2 separate regions of the Homo sapiens genome follow, and region 2 is linked to region 1. Evidence: promoter capture Hi-C in 16 types of primary human blood cells and fetal thymus (Javierre and others, 2016). All regions are on one chromosome and are shown on one strand. Each heading gives the region's core, a stretch centred on a gene start or on the middle of the fragment in contact. The rest is flanking DNA. Distances are from core to core; before and after follow the strand shown. Region 1 holds the start of SLC35F3 (solute carrier family 35 member F3). Region 2 has its middle 140 kb from the start of MAP3K21.

Evidence for each region. The method cuts DNA at HindIII sites, captures the fragments that hold promoters and counts their contacts. A CHiCAGO score of 5 or more calls a contact.
Region 2: a contact is called between a fragment that was not itself captured here and the fragment with the promoter of SLC35F3 in region 1, in 1 of 17 cell types (M0 macrophages). The highest score is 5.1, in M0 macrophages.

Annotation. Positions count from the first base shown.
Region 1 is chr1:233,901,415-233,909,132 of GRCh38, reverse strand. SLC35F3 (solute carrier family 35 member F3) reads right to left here and starts at 4,457. Exons shown (of 8, transcript NM_173508.4): 1 at 4,003-4,457; 2 at 3,375-3,604. The coding sequence starts at 4,055. The HindIII fragment of the contact is 5,426 bases long and covers 1-4,940 here.
Region 2 is chr1:233,460,727-233,468,444 of GRCh38, reverse strand. No RefSeq gene overlaps it. Among named protein-coding and RNA genes, the nearest start is that of MAP3K21, 140 kb to the right of the region's middle. The HindIII fragment of the contact is 720 bases long and covers 2,379-3,098 here.

The DNA of each region.
Region 1 (7,718 bases), core at 3,208-5,707:
GTAATCCCATTACTTTGGGAGGCCGAGGAGGGCAGATCACAAGATCAGGAGTTCGAGACCAGCCTGACCAACATGGTGAAACCCTGTCTCTACTAAAAATACAAAAATTAGCCGGGCATGGTGGTGGGTGCCTGTAGTCCCAGCTACTCAGGAGGAAGCTGAGGTAGGAGAATCGCTTGAACCTGTGAGGCAGAGGTTGCAGTGAGCTGAGATTGTGCCACTGCACTCTAGCCTGGGCGACAGAGCAAAACTCCTTCTAAAAAAAAATACTATTATTTGGGGAAGCTGGGCAAATTTTAAGCCAGGCACGGTGGCTCACGACTGTAATTCCAGCACTTTGGGAGGCCGAGGTGGGCAGATCATGAGATCAGGAGTTCGAGACCAGCCTGGCCAACATGGTGAAACCCCATCTTTACTAAAAATACAAAAAATTAGCCAGGCATGGTGGTGCTAGTCCCAGCTACTCAGAAGGCTGAAGCAGGAGAATCGCTTGAACCCGGGAGGTGGAAGTTGCAGTGAGCCGAGATTGCACCATTGCACTCCAGCCTGGGTGACAGAATAAGACTCTGTCAAAAAAAAAAAAAAAAAAAAAAAAAGAATCCTTTACAAAATTCTCTTGTCTAGAGCGAAACTTGCGAATCCAAATGACTGAGTTGAGAATACTGAGCAAAGGTAATTTCTGTACTGTTCACAATTACCTCATTTATCTTAACAACCCAAACAAAATCTAAAAATGAAGAGGATACAAATGAATATTGGGTCATTCAAATGGTTTCTTCTGCTACAAGGGCAAATGACTTACATCCAGAAACTTTCACTGGCAACTCCTTCAGTTAGGACACAGATAAATCACTTTGAAAGATGACTGAAAGGTGACATAATAGCTTGGAGCTTCCATAACTCACTCTGGAGATCATGAGAATTTTTTTTTTTTGTCTTTGTTTTGTTTTTTTTGTAACCATCATCTCTCCCCATTTATAGAGTACAATTACCAACCAACAAATAAAGCAACTAGGTGATACCTACAGGTAATAGATAAGCCTCTTTATTATTATCAATTGAGTAGAAATGGCAAACAGCAAAAGTTCTGCCTTAAAACCTCTTCTGGGCCGGGCGTGGTGGCTCACGCCTATAATCCCAGCACTTTGGGAGGCCAAGGTGGGTGGATAACCTGAGGTCAGGAGTTCAAGACCAGCCTGGCCAACATAGTGAAACCTCATCTCTACTAAAAATACAAAAATTAGCAGGATGTGGTGGCGCACGCCTGTAATCCCAGCTACGCAGGAGGCTGAGGCAGGAGAATCACTTGAACTCAGGAGGTGGAGGTTGCAGTGAGCCAAGATCATGCCACTGCACTCTACACTCCAGCCTGGGTGACAGAGTGAGACTCCCTCTCAAAAAACAAAGAAAAAAAAAACAAAAAGACAACCTCTTTTGCTGCATTAATACATTAATAAAACATTACCTTCTCTAAATTTAAACATTACACCTAATTAATTCACCAAAATGTCAGTTGTCACCTAAAGCGTTATAGTAACAAGGAAATACCTTGGAATAAAGAAGAATCCTCACAGGAATAGAGAGAGTGGAATGAGCTGATTTTATTCATATTTCAATGATCACTGTAGCCTTCCCTGCTACTATTTACTCTTCCAGTGAAGCCTCAGAGAGAGGCATTTAAGAATTACCTCCAGTGATGCAAGGGACTCCATTTCCACATGGCCCTTCTCTTGTCTTAATTACAAAACATGTTGTACCAAACAGTCATCACTGCTGTAAGCTCTCTGGCAAGCCCCCAAATCACAAACCTTGGTGATAACTTCCACAAAGCACATACAGCCAGTCACAAATAGATTTATAAAGATAAAACCTTTTTATGACTTCAAGCACCAAAGAGATGACTTTATGAAGGCTGTCATTTATACCACTGTCTTTTGTTATTAAGGAAGCAGAAAATGGAAATAAGAATAGAAAATTGCTATTTTCTAATAGAAATTTAGAAAGCAGAAGTAAAACTTGAGCGTTCTATCCATGCCCATAAGAAATATGGTTTCCAATGGGGTTTAATTTTTGTTATCCCATGCCCAGGGTTTTTCAACCAAAAAGAGAATTTGGCCCCTTGTCTTCCTTTTGTAATAAGCTACAATTTTAGCAGCAGAGGCAAGAGATTGGAAGAGATACAGACAATTTTTTTAAAGGCTTATACCCAATGAAACACAGTCTTTTAAAAGCAAGTTGCATGAAAACAAAACATTCAAATCCTGTTTCTTCCTGCAAATAATTTTAAACTAACCAGCTAACTGCTAGCATACCACTGACCTTTGCCTTGGACTCGCAGGTTTTAGGAATAATCTAAAGATAGACATTTTTTTTTAGTGATGAATATGATTAAATTACAAACGCCCGTTTTCCCCTTAAAGACCAATAAATAATGTTTCAATTTTAAGCAATAAAAGGTCGAAAAAAACTCAAAATCAACAAGCTATTAATCTAGTCTTTATTACAAATGAAAGACGTCAAGGCCCATTTCTCATACGGACTGAGGTGGCAAATGGCAATCTCTTATGTCAAACTACAGTGATGAGACCACCTAATTATGGTTATATTTATAGATATCTGGATTTCATCATAATCAACCTCTCTCTTGCAAAGTGAGAAAAAGAAATGTCCACCAAATTAGTCCTGGTGACATAAGATAATGTCTGTCTAATTGATCACAGCATCCTCAAAGCCATTAGCTAGGACCCACGGAAAGAAAAACATTTCAGCTTCTCCACCTGACACCAAACATTCAACTTGCAGGGACCAACACCACTATCTAGAATGATCCCTATAGAACCTCCTTACTGAAGACCGATAAAATCCAGGGGAGAAGGGCGTGAACGGCATCCAAAATGAAGACCCCAAGAATTGTCCTCTATCATCAGGGCTAGGAGATGCAAGGAAGAGTTAAAATCCTGGCTATGTAAGTCAGCATCTCCATCTGAGCCTGGTGAGACCTGACCGAGGGCCCTGTGAGACTTTCAGATCCGCGGGGAAGCCACACTGTCCGGGATACTTTGAGTTTCTGATCTGTTTCCCACGGTCTGCCACATAGGAGTGTCCTCCGTATTTGGCAGTGGAGAGATAAGGATACAGAGAGATCCTGTGTGTGGGAGAGGAAGGGGTGTAAGAGAACGCATCAGAACGCCTCAGAGGTCCAGGAGAACTCCGTCTCCGGGCCTCTTCCTCGAAGTTGCAAACCTGGGTCTGTATCAGCAGGCAGGGCGGGAGGGGGTGGCTGGACGCCTCACTGCGTGCGCTCCCCGAGGCTGCTGTGACAATGGTAAGAAGATGGACCAGTGAACGGGAAACATGACGTGAGGGGGTCTTACTTTTGCAGCTCGCTGCCCAGGGCTGGTAGCCATAGTAGCCAGTGATGCGCAGGATCCGCTCCTCGATGGACGTGAGCCCCACCGGCCCGCTGGTGAGATCCTCCACGGAGCGCGACCATTTCAGATCCTCCTTAATCGCCTCGTCCACCACCAAGTACTTGAGCTGCCGGAGCTGGGGGCTGATGTCGGACAGTCTCCGGGGGCTGACGTCCGGTGACCTCCTCATGCCACTGCGGTCGCAGGCGCCACGGGCAGGTGGGTGGGCAGGGGGAGCATGGACAGAGAGGAGGGGATTCGTGAGGAGCAGATCCCAGGGCGAGAGCAAGAGCGCGGCCGGGGCCCTCCGGGGGCGAGCGCCGCGGCAGAGCCCGCGCTCCTCCCTTCCCGCCGCCACTCACCCACTTCCCCGGGCAGCTGTCCCCAGTGCCCTATCCTGGGCGTCTCGGGGCAGTGCGGGTTGGGGCGAGTGGCGAGGGAAAGAATGACTGAAACTTCCCGAGCAGCTCCACCGCGCGCGCCGCCCTTCCCCGAGCCTCAGACTGCCCAGTGTCCCAGCTGCAAAGGGCTACCCCGGCGCTCCGGCCTCCCGCCCGCCGGCTCGCTCACCCACGCCCGGGGCGCTACTCACACGGCAATGCTCTTGCCCCTGGGTGCGCCGCTGGGAAACTCTCGAATCCCCATAGGCAAAGACAGAGTGGGACCGGCAGCTCCCAGACTTGAGGCGGAGGGGCCGCGGGCCGGAGCTCCCTGCAGCCGCTAGCCTGGGAAGACTGGAGTGCGCTGCCCACCGAGGGTCTGCGCCGCGCCGGCCGCCCCGGGCCGCTTTGTGCGCGCCCGCGCGGTCTGTACCCGAGCGCCTCCGCGGCGTGCGGCACGATGCAGGCGCGGCGGTTCAGCCCGGTGACTCCAGGCCGGCCCGCGCGCTCGCCGCAACGACCCGGCAGCCGAGGCAGCGCCGCGCCCCACGCCCGTCACCGTCGCCGCCGCCCTAGCACACCGCAGGCGTGAGTCTCGCCGCGACCGGGAGAGCCCTCCCAGCTGTGCGCTCTCGAGGCACCTGGTCGGGCGGGGAGGCGTCGGGTCGGGGCGCACAGGGGCCAGGCGGGGGCGCTGCTGCCCACTTCCCGCCTCCCGGGCGTGCGCTCCGCCCCGGAGCCCGCACCTCGCGCCCGCGCTCCGCCTGGAAGCCTTGGGGCACCGGACGCGCTCCTCCACCCTTCTCTTTTGACTCAAACCCTGCCGCTCCCAGTTCAGTACTTTTCTCTCTCTCTCTCACACTCTCTCTCTCTCTCTCTCTCTCTCTCTCTCTCTCTCTCTCTATGTATATGTCTGTCTCTCTCTTTCTCTAAATTAGCAAAACTACTTGGAAAGAAAGAAACCTGGTTCCATGCTCAGCATGCCAAGTGAATAAATGGCGTTTCATAGGCAACGCTGAGACACAAAATGTATTATCTATTACGCTGTGGGGATCTCTCAGTCAGACCTGGTCCTCAGAGAGCTTACTTTCCCACTGATGATGCAATTACGAAATCAGTTCTCTCTTCATAGATTTCCATTTTAAAAGCTTCTCATCTTTTTCCTTACCACCCCACTGCCCCCGACGGCCGAAAGGCATTCTCTTCAGACTACCTAATCACCTTTCCTAATATTATTTTTCATCGGGGCAAATTTAGAAAAGATAGAAGTATGTGGAGAAGAAAATATCCATTATCCAGCCAAAAATGACGACTTTCAATTATGAACGTATTCTCTTCCAGGCTTTTTTCCAACGCAAAATACAGTTGTCACAAAAATCGGAATGAAATTGTACACACTACTTTATGTACTGCTTTTTTTATATTAAAATCATATTGTATAGCAGCAAACTATGAATAGAGGGGAACTTTCTCAACTTGAAAAAGAACATTTACAAAAGCGTACAGCTAACACCATGCTTAATGGTGAGAAACTAGAAGCTTTCCTGTTAAAATAAGGAACAGGGCAAGTATGTCTCTACTCAGCAATCCTTTTCAGCATCATACTGAAAGTCCCAGCTAATGAAATTAGACAAGAAAAGGAAATTAAAAGTATACGTATTGTGAAGGAAAAGGTAAAAGAAAACTGTCTTTGCAGCTGACATGACTGTTGATGTAGAAAAATTTCAATTGACAAAAAAACTCTCCTGTTACTAATAAGCAATTATGGTAAGATTGAAGGATACAAAATTAATGTACAAAAGTCAACTGCTTTTCTATATACTAGCAACGAACAATGGGAATTTGAAATTAAAACCACAATACTATTTATATTAGCACACCACTCAAATGAAATATTTAGGTACAAATCTAATAAATATGTACAATATCTATATGAGAAAAACTACAAAACTGTGATGAAAGAAATCAAAGAACTAAATAAATAGAGAGATATTTTATGTTCATGGATGGAAAAATTTAATATTGTTAAGATGTCAGTTCTTCCCAACTTCATCTATAGATTCAAAGTAATTCCAATCAGAATCCCAGGAGGTTATTTTGTGAATATCACAAACTGATTCTCAAGTTTATATGAAAAGGCAAAAGACCCATAATAGCCAACACAATATTAAAGGAGAAGAACAAAGTCTGAGGACTGATATTGCCCAACTTCAAGACTTACTATAGTTACAGTAATCAAGACAGTGTGGTATTGGTGAAAGAGCAGACAAATAGATTAATGGAACAGAATAGAGAGGCCAAGATAGACCCACACATAGAGTCAAGTGATCTTTGACAAAGGAGCAAAAGAAATCTAATGGAGAAAAGATCACCTTTTCAACAAATGGTGCTAGAACAACTAGACATCCAATCACAAAAAAAAAAAAGAAAGAAAGAGAGAAAAAAAGAAAAGAAGCTGGATACATAGATACAGACCTTACACCTTTCACAAAAATTAACTCAAAATAGATCATAGACCTAAATATAAAATGCAAAACTATAAAACTCTTAGAAGATAAAAAGGAGAAAACCTAGGTGACCTTGGGTTTGTAAATGACATTTTAGATACAACATCAAAGGCATGATCCATGAAAGTAAAAATTGGTATTGGACTTCGTTAAGATTAATAACTTCTGCTCTACAAAAGACACTGTTAAAACAATGGGAAGAAAAGCTACAGACCAATAGAAAATATGTCAAATCATATACATGATTAAGAACTGTAATAAAAAATAAGAATAATTAGAACTCAACAATAAGAAAATGATCCCAATTAAAAAATTGGCAAAACAGCTGAACAAACATATCAATAGAGATGATATACAGATGGTAAATCAGCACATGAAAAGATGCTCCACATCATACATCATTAGGGAATTCCAAATTAAGACAAAAAAGATGTATTGCTATACACCTACTAGAATGAATAAAATCCCAAACGCTGACAACATCAAATGCTGGCAGGATGTGGAACAGCAAGAAGTCTCTCATTCATTGCTGGTGGGAATGCAAAATGGTACAGCACTTTGGTAGACAGTTTGAGTTCCTTACAAAATTAATCATACTGTTACCATGCAACCCATCAGTCATGCTCCTTGATATTTACCTGGATGAGTTCAAAACTTAAGTCCCCACAAAAATCTGCACACAAATGTTTATAGGAACTTTTTTCATGATTGCCAAGATGTCCTTCAGTAGCTGAATGAATAAACATACTGTGGTACATCCATACAAAAGAATATTCCGTTCAGTGATAAAATGAGCTATCAAGCTGCAAAAAGACATGAAGGAAATTGAAAACATATTGCTAAGTGAAAGAAACCGGTCTGAGAGAGGCAAAACTATGGAGATAGTTTAAAGATCACTGGTTCCCAATGGTTGGGGAGAGGATGGGATGAACAGGCAGAACACAGAGGATTTTTAGGGCAGTGGGTTGATTTTGTATAGTACTGTAATGGTAGATATATATCATTATACATATGTCAAAACTCAGTGGATGCACAACCCTAAGAGTTAACCCCAATGTAAACTATAGACTTTGGGTGATAGTGATGTGTCAATGTTGGCTCATTATTTGTAACGAATGTACCACTGGTGCAGGATGTTGACGTGGGTGGAGAGAAGCTGTGGGTGTGTGACAGGGGGAAGGTATTTAAAAACTTTCTGTACTTTCTCCTCAAATTTGCTGTGAACCTGAAATCGTTCTTTAAAAAAAGTCTATTTTAAAAACTTCATTATGCTGCTTTTCTATGTCACTATGTTCTTCTAAAATATTTTCCAGTTTTATTAAGGTTAAGTGACAAATAGAAATTATATATGCTTACAGTGTAAAACATGATGTTTTGATATATGGATACACTGTAAAATGATTAAATCAAACTAATTATCA
Region 2 (7,718 bases), core at 1,489-3,988, 440 kb after region 1:
TAACTATTATATATTTTGCCATTAAGATTTTTTTATTGTACTCCAAATAACATGTCTTTCCTTTCTGACTTTGCATTTGTGCCTTGTCTAATAAAGAAATAAAGGTTATCAGTATATATCTTCTGATTTTTTTCCTACAATGCTTTCATAGCCCTTATTGATTTATTTATTTATTTATTTTATGTATTGGTCTTTATACCATCTGCAATTTGGTTTTGTGTGAATGGTTCAAAGCAGTGATTGCATGTAAATTGTTTACACAAATAAAACATTTTCCCAATGCTAAATTCCCTTAGATGTATTCATGTATGTCTGGGCCCTATGTCCATTTGTCTAATCCCCCACTATGCCACCGTCCTAGTCATTCTGGCTTTGTAACACATTCACACCTAGTGGGCTATGGTCCCCCCATCCCTTCCCCACACACAATTCTCACACATACACACTCTGGATTTTTTTTGTTTTGAAAATTGTCTTGGCCTCTCTTACATACTTACTGTCTTACATGGATTTTAGAATGGCTTCGCCAAATTCCTCGAAAAAGTCATGTTATAATTTGTATTATGCTTGCATTGATTTTATACATCACTTTAGGAGAATCGATCTCTTTGCAATCTTGATATCCCAATTTACAAACATGATAAATGTCTCCATTTATTTAAGACTTGTATGTCTCAACTTTATGTGAATTTTTCTGGTCTTTTGTCACATGGGCCTTTTCAGGCTTATGTCTAGGTATTTTAAGGCTCTCCCCTCTTAGAATGTTGATTTTCCTTCATAGTCAGCCGTTGGTCTGCTTCTGGCCCACTAAGTCTCCTTGGATGCTCCAACTGTTACCATTATCATCTATATGTCGTTACCTCATCAACACCTGGGTTTCAGCTTAGACCCCATTGGCCTGACCTCCACATATAAACGTTCACCTGCAAACCAGAGTTTTCCATATAGATTTTCTACTGACACCTCAACCTCAACCACATCATGACTGCCCTTTTCCCACTCCCTGACACCTTCTGTTCCCTGTCTCCCACCCTCCTTGATGGAATCCCTTCCTTAGTGAATGATATCACCAATCACCCATGCAAAACCTTAGAGTCCTCATCACCTTTTCCTTCTCCTTCACCCTCTGCATGAAGTCACTTAAATCAGTCTTGTGGATTCAGCCATCTCAAACTATTGCCATATCCTCTATCAGTCTCACCCCTGCCAACCAATTCTTACTACCATTTTATCATCAACAACAACTTTAAATAGCTTTCTACATTATCTAGAGTAGATCAAGATGCTATAACTAATAGGCTACATAATGTACCATGTTGCTAATACAACAGATGTTTGTTTCTTGCTCCCACAACAGTTCAAGATATGTGTTCTGGATGGCAGATAGCTCCTACAATCTTGTCATTCCACCATCCCCTAGGGTCTTGGCATTTTCTGCACTTAGCTGGGAAAAAAAGGAAGAGTAATTAAGGGTGTATCATACCCACTGTTTAAAATCCTTGGTGCAGAAATGTATCTTCTGTGCACAACCTATTGAAAACCAGTCACATGACACACCTAATTGCAAAGGACACTGGGAAAGGGAATTTAGCCATACACTGGGCTACAATGTAAATATTTCTGTTGAAGGAGATAATGAATTTTCGGTGACAAAATATGGTTCCTTGACCTTGACATTGTCTTGCATAACCTCCATGACATTTTTTTTTTAAGAGATGGAATCTGACGCAATCACCCTGGCTGGAGTGCAGTGGCATAATCATAGCTCCATGCAACCCAGAGCTTCTGGGCTCAAGATGTTTCCGGAATTGGTAGGTTCTTGGTCTCGCTGACTTCAAGAATGAAGCCGCGGACCCTCGCAGTGAGTGTTACAGTTCTTAAAGATGCTGTGTCCAGAGTTTGTTCCTTCAGATGTTCAGACGTGTCTGGAGTTTCTTCTTTCTGGTGGGTTCGTGGTCTCACTGGCTTCAGGAGTGAAGCTGCAGACCTTCGCAGTGAGTGTTACAGCTCATAAACGCAGTGCGGACCCAAAGAGTGAGCAGAAGCAAGATTTATTGCAAAGAGGGAAAGAACAAAGCTTCCACAGCATGCAAGAAGATGGTGGGCGGGGGGCCAAGGCCAGGGCAGGGGCAGCGGCAGGCTCAGGCATGGAGGGCTGCAGGTCCCGAGCCCTGTCCCGCAAGGAAGAGGCTGAGGCCCGGCAAGAATTCGAGCATGGCGCAGGCGGGCTGACAGTGCTGGGGGAACTGGCGCACCCTCCGAAGCTGCTTGCCTGGGTGCTAAGCCCCTCACTGCCCTGGGCCAGCGGCGCCGACCGGCCGCTCCGACTGCGGGCCACTGAGCCTGCACCCAGCCGGAACCCGGGCTCGCCACAAGCTTCACGTACAGCCCTGGTTCCCGCCCGGGCCTCTCCCTCCATACCTCCGGGCAAGCAGAGGGAGCCAAATTCGGCCTCGGCCAGCCCAGAGAGGGGCTCCCACAGTGCAGCGGCGGGCTGAAGTGCTCTTCAAGCGCAGCCAGAGTGGACACCGAGGCCGAGGAGGCGCTGAGAGTGAGCGAGGGCTGCTAGCATGTTGTCACCTCTCAAAGAGATCTTCCTGCCTCAGCCTCTTGAGTAGCTAAGACTACAGGCATGTGCCACCATGCCCAGCTAACTGTTTTAATTTTATTTTTAGAGACGGGACTTTGCTTATGTTGCCCAGGCTGGTCCTGAATTCCTGGGCTCAAGTGATCTTCCCACCTCAGTCTCCCATTCATGAGGGATTCATTCCCCGCCCTCCATGACCTAAACACCACCCACTAGGCTCCACTTCCCAAGGTCACCATATTGGAGATCAAATGTCAGCATGAGGTTTGATGGGGATAAACAAATCTCATCCAAACAGCAAAGAAGGAATGAGGCACAGAAGCCCTGAGAGAATAAAGAGGTTCCCAGCAGAGAAAACATGGAGCAAGACCAAAGTGTGGCACTTTTGAAAATGATTTGTCTAATTGGAGTAAGAGATACAGTTGGCAGAGTAGCGAGGAAGGCAGAGGCCAGACCAAGTACAATGTCATGTGCTAGTCTCAAGAATTTTGCTTTAATCCTGAAGGAAGCTTTGAAGTGTATTTAGCAGAGACGTGATGGAATCCAGAAGTTTAGAGGGAAACACTAGAATGCAGTACGGGAGGAGCATCTCCCAACCCTGGAAGACTGGAGTCCAACCAGCATGTGCCAGGTTGTCTCTTCTCTCTGCTACAGTTCTTTATTCATTGCTACAGTTCCTTATTCACATGTAACTGTAGGCTCCCTTCATCAGTTTAGGAAAACAAATGAGGTCACATATCTTTCTAACTAGCTTCTTGAGCCACCACACAGTCAAATTAACTGGAACCCCAGGGTCTCCTTCTTAGGACCTTTTTCCAATTGTAAAAGAATCTTGGTGTTTGCTCTGCTTAATGGGGCGAATCCAAACAGTGTTCAGGAAAAAAAATATATAAAGAATGTCCCGAGCCTATGATAAGACCTTGGCTTTTATGTGCCATTTCTCCTATAGCTATTGGTCTGATCCATGCCTTCTCCAATATCATTCCAGGACCCCAAGGAAAACAGAGCTACATAGGAAGGAACTCCAATAAAGTGGCAACAGTGATCAGATTTGGGATTTCAAAAGGTTGCTCTGATGTCAGAGTACACAGGGTTGGACCAAAAGGGAACACAGCTAGAGGCAAGGAGATCAATGAAGTTGCCCATGCAGTGTTTTAGATGGAAAGTAATAGAAGCCTGAAGAAGGGAAGTGGGGATGGAGAAGAGGGCAGAAGCATGATATAGGTCAAAAGCATAAAATTGACAGCATCTATTGACTGTTTGGATGTAAGGAGTAAAAGGAAAATAAAGTTGATAGTTTATATAGACCTTCCTTGGGAACGGGGTAGATGCCAGTGAGATTCCACAAGATTAGGGATGCAAGAGTCAAGATAGGCTTGGGAAATGGTGAAGGCAGTTGATGATCTCAGGTTTAAGCGTGTGAAGTGGGGTGCATGGGGAAAAACTATAGGAATGTGTCTCAAGGTAGTCAGGTATATAAGCATGGAACTCATGAGAAACGTCTGGAGATAGGGATTTCAACTCACTGGTTTGTAGGTAATAGTTGAATTGGTGTGGACAAGAGCTGCAGGAAGAATTGTTGAATGGGATGAGGGCAGAACACTGGGGAACCCAAACTCTAAGGATTGAGCAAAGATGTCTGAGAAGGAGCACTACAGAGGTTGGAAAAGGAAGACTTCAAAAAGACAGCAATCAGCATCCTGCACTGCAAGAAGGCAGGTCAACTAACAAGGACCTGAAGTGCTTCATTAATGATCTTGGTGAGAGTGAGGAGTGGGCACAGAAGCTTGACCAAAGTAAAAGAGGAGAAACAATAAGGCCAGGGTTATTTTTCAGAAAACCAGGTGATGAGGGACAGCATGGAATAAAATGACAACTGGAGAGGGAGGTAGGGTCAAGAAATGGTGTGTGGTGTGGTGTGTGTGTGTGTGTGTGTATGTGTGTGTGTGTGTGTGTGTGTATGTGTGTGTGTGAATTTCTCTGCCACTTTTTTAATCCCACAGAGAGTGGCGTTCGTTTGATGTCTACAAGTCTTAGAAGGGCCACTGACTCCCCAGATGCCCCTCCTTCTCCCTTTACCTTAGGGTTATAACTGGGCATTCACTCGTCTTAGAATCCCCCTCTTTTTTCATAGGGTTTTGGGGACATCACATAGGATTCTAGGCCTTGGTGGGTTTGACACATCATAGCAGTCAGCTTATTCAGTCTCTTTTTCTTATTTAACTAAAGCTCTGCCCATGTCTTCTATAGTTATGGGAAACTACTCTCATCAGCCAGCCGTGGCGTAGCACCACACCCAGGGCTGTCCATGCTTGTGTGGTCCATATAAATAATCATTTCAACTGGGAAATTTTGAGAATAAAAGGAGTGTTGTTAGCAATGACTGACAGACAACAGGTGCAAATGGAAATTGTCCCCGTCAAATGGAGACATAGTCATAGACAGTCAGATGATCCCTACTCATTCTTCATATTTGCATTGTCACAGCTCAAAACACATGAAGGGATTTTATATACATTGTATTATTTGAGGCTTTTTAAGTAGCACACATTATTTTATTTTATTATGAGATGGAATCTCCCTCTGTTACCCAAGCTGGAGTGCAATGGCACGATCTCAGCTCACTGCAACCTCTGCCTCCTTGGTTCAAGCAATTCTCCTGCTTCAGCCTCCTGAGTAGCTGGGACTGCAGGTGCATGCCACCACACCCAATTAGCTTTGTATTTTTAGTAGAGACAGGGTTTCACCATGTTTGCCAGCCTGGTCTTGAACTCCTGACTTCAAGTGATCCTCCTACTTGGTCTCCCAAAGTGCTGGGATTACAGACGTGAGCCATCGTGCAGGCCCACGCATTACTTTAGAAATAAATAGGTAAAGGAAATCATGTTTGCAGAATCTGAGCTGGCACGGACTGCCTGGTGCAAACCCCTCATTTTATAAATGAAGATCCCAAGGCCCAGCTCTCTGGAAGCTCCAGTAAGACCTGAATAACTATCAGATTTGAGGTCCCTCCTACTTTAGATCCATTCCCCCAGCCTCCACCAATTGGGAGGGGAGCCAGAGGGGAGGGTGTCCATGGATTTGCCTTGGGAGGAAGAGCTATGAGGAAGTCTTCATGAATTTGTCCCTGAATGGCAGCCAAAGCAGGAAGCCTCCTAAGTTTGGAATGGGGGTCAGTGGAGCTCAGGATCTATATCCCGCAGAGCATATGGAGGCCCAAATCACTGTCTCCTCCTCTGGCTCAGAGTTTCCCTATTTCAGTCTGCACCTGCATCTTACATCCCACAACGAAGTGGAGCCTCTGTAGCAGTGGCAGACTACAGGTCTGTATTTACATGGGTCCGTATTTCATCTGCATCGTGACACCAGCCTCCACCACTTTCTGTGCCACCCAGTTCTGGGAGGGAAGAGATTTCATGGTTTTGATGGACTCTCTTAGAGCTATTTACATGCATGAAACAATTAGGAAAACAAAAATAAGGGAGCGTGATGATTAAGTTTTGATGTTAATTTGACTGGAATAAGGAATACCTAGAAATCTGGTAAAGCGTTTTTTTTCTGAGTGTGTCTGTGAAGGTGTTTCCAAAGGAGATCGGCATGTGAGTCTGAGAGGACTAAGTGGGGAAGATCCACCCTCAATGTGGGCAGGCACCATCTAGTCTACTGGGGACCTGCAGAAAACAAAAACAGAAAGGGCAAATAGGTTAATCTCTCTACTAGAGTTGGGATATATTGTCCCTCTCCTGTCCTTGGACAACTTCAGGCTCTCTGATCTTTGGACTCCACGAGTTACACCAATGACCCCTGGGTTCTCAGGCCTTTGGCCTTGGAATGAGAGTTACACCATCATCCTCTGGCTCTGATGGCATCACTCCTGGCTCTGATGCCTTTGGACTTGTACTGAGCTGTACTACCAGAATTCCCAGGTCTCCAGCTTGCAGACAACCTGTCCTGGGACTTCTCAGCCTCAATAATCATTTGAGCCAATTCCCCTAATAAATCCTCTCCCATCTACCTATCTATATCTACATCCATATCTAATCTATGTCTATATCCATCTCCTATTTGTTCTGTCTCTCTAGAGAATCCTGACTAATACAGAGAGTAACAAAGCATTTTTCTCATGTTTTATCTTTCATCTCAGAATCTAATTAATCACTTCCTTAATTACTTGAATGAGCCACTGGAGGTTTGGGGTCATGATTCCTGCTCTATTTATATCACCTTGTTTTTGATGAGATGACCCTACCTCTGAATACTGAGTCTAAACATACCAATAAAAAGATGAGAGACGGCCGGGCACGGTGGCTCACACCTGTAATCCCAACACTTTGGGAGGCCAGGGCGGGTGGATCACTTGAGGTCAGGAGTTCAAAATTGGCTTGGCCAACATCTAATTTAATAGAGATGACATCTAATTTAGTAGAGACGAGTGAAACCTCGTCTCTACTAAAAATACAAAAATTAGCCAGGCATGGTGGCAGGCGCCTATAATCCCAGCTACTTGGGAGGCTAAGGCAGGAGAACCACTTGAACCCAGGATGCAGAGGTTGCAGTGAGCCGAGATTTTTGCACCACTGCACTCGAGCCTGGGTGACAGAGCTTCATCTCAAAAAAAAAAAAAAAAAAAAAAAAAAAAAAAGATGAGAGACCTGTTCCAGGCCCTGTAGTTTTCACATTCTCTCTGAATTCATTATTCTTAAAACACTGTCTATTATCCACCCCTAGTCAATCAAAAATAAATAAAAATCAAAAAGAAAACAAGGAACAGGCTTCTCTTGTAATTGGAAGAGAGCTGTGAGCAAGACGAATGATCTGTGGGGACCTCCACTACGAATTACAGCAGAAGGCTTGCAATTACTTAGAGAAAGAAACTGCATGTTTATAATGTTTGAGTAGAAAGAAGCATCTCAGTACTCTTCACACTTAGTATTCAGCACAGTGATATTGCAGTGCTGGGCCAGTGGGGCAAAGGCCAGCCTTTCTGGAATTGTAACACTCTAAAGTGTCTCTGTACACTGTGAGACACGACCAGGTTCATCAGTCTGGGATCCCCAGGACCTCCAAGCATAACAAACGTGGCAGCAAGTCTCAGGGGCAGAGCCCCAGGCTGCACTTGCCAAGAAGCAGC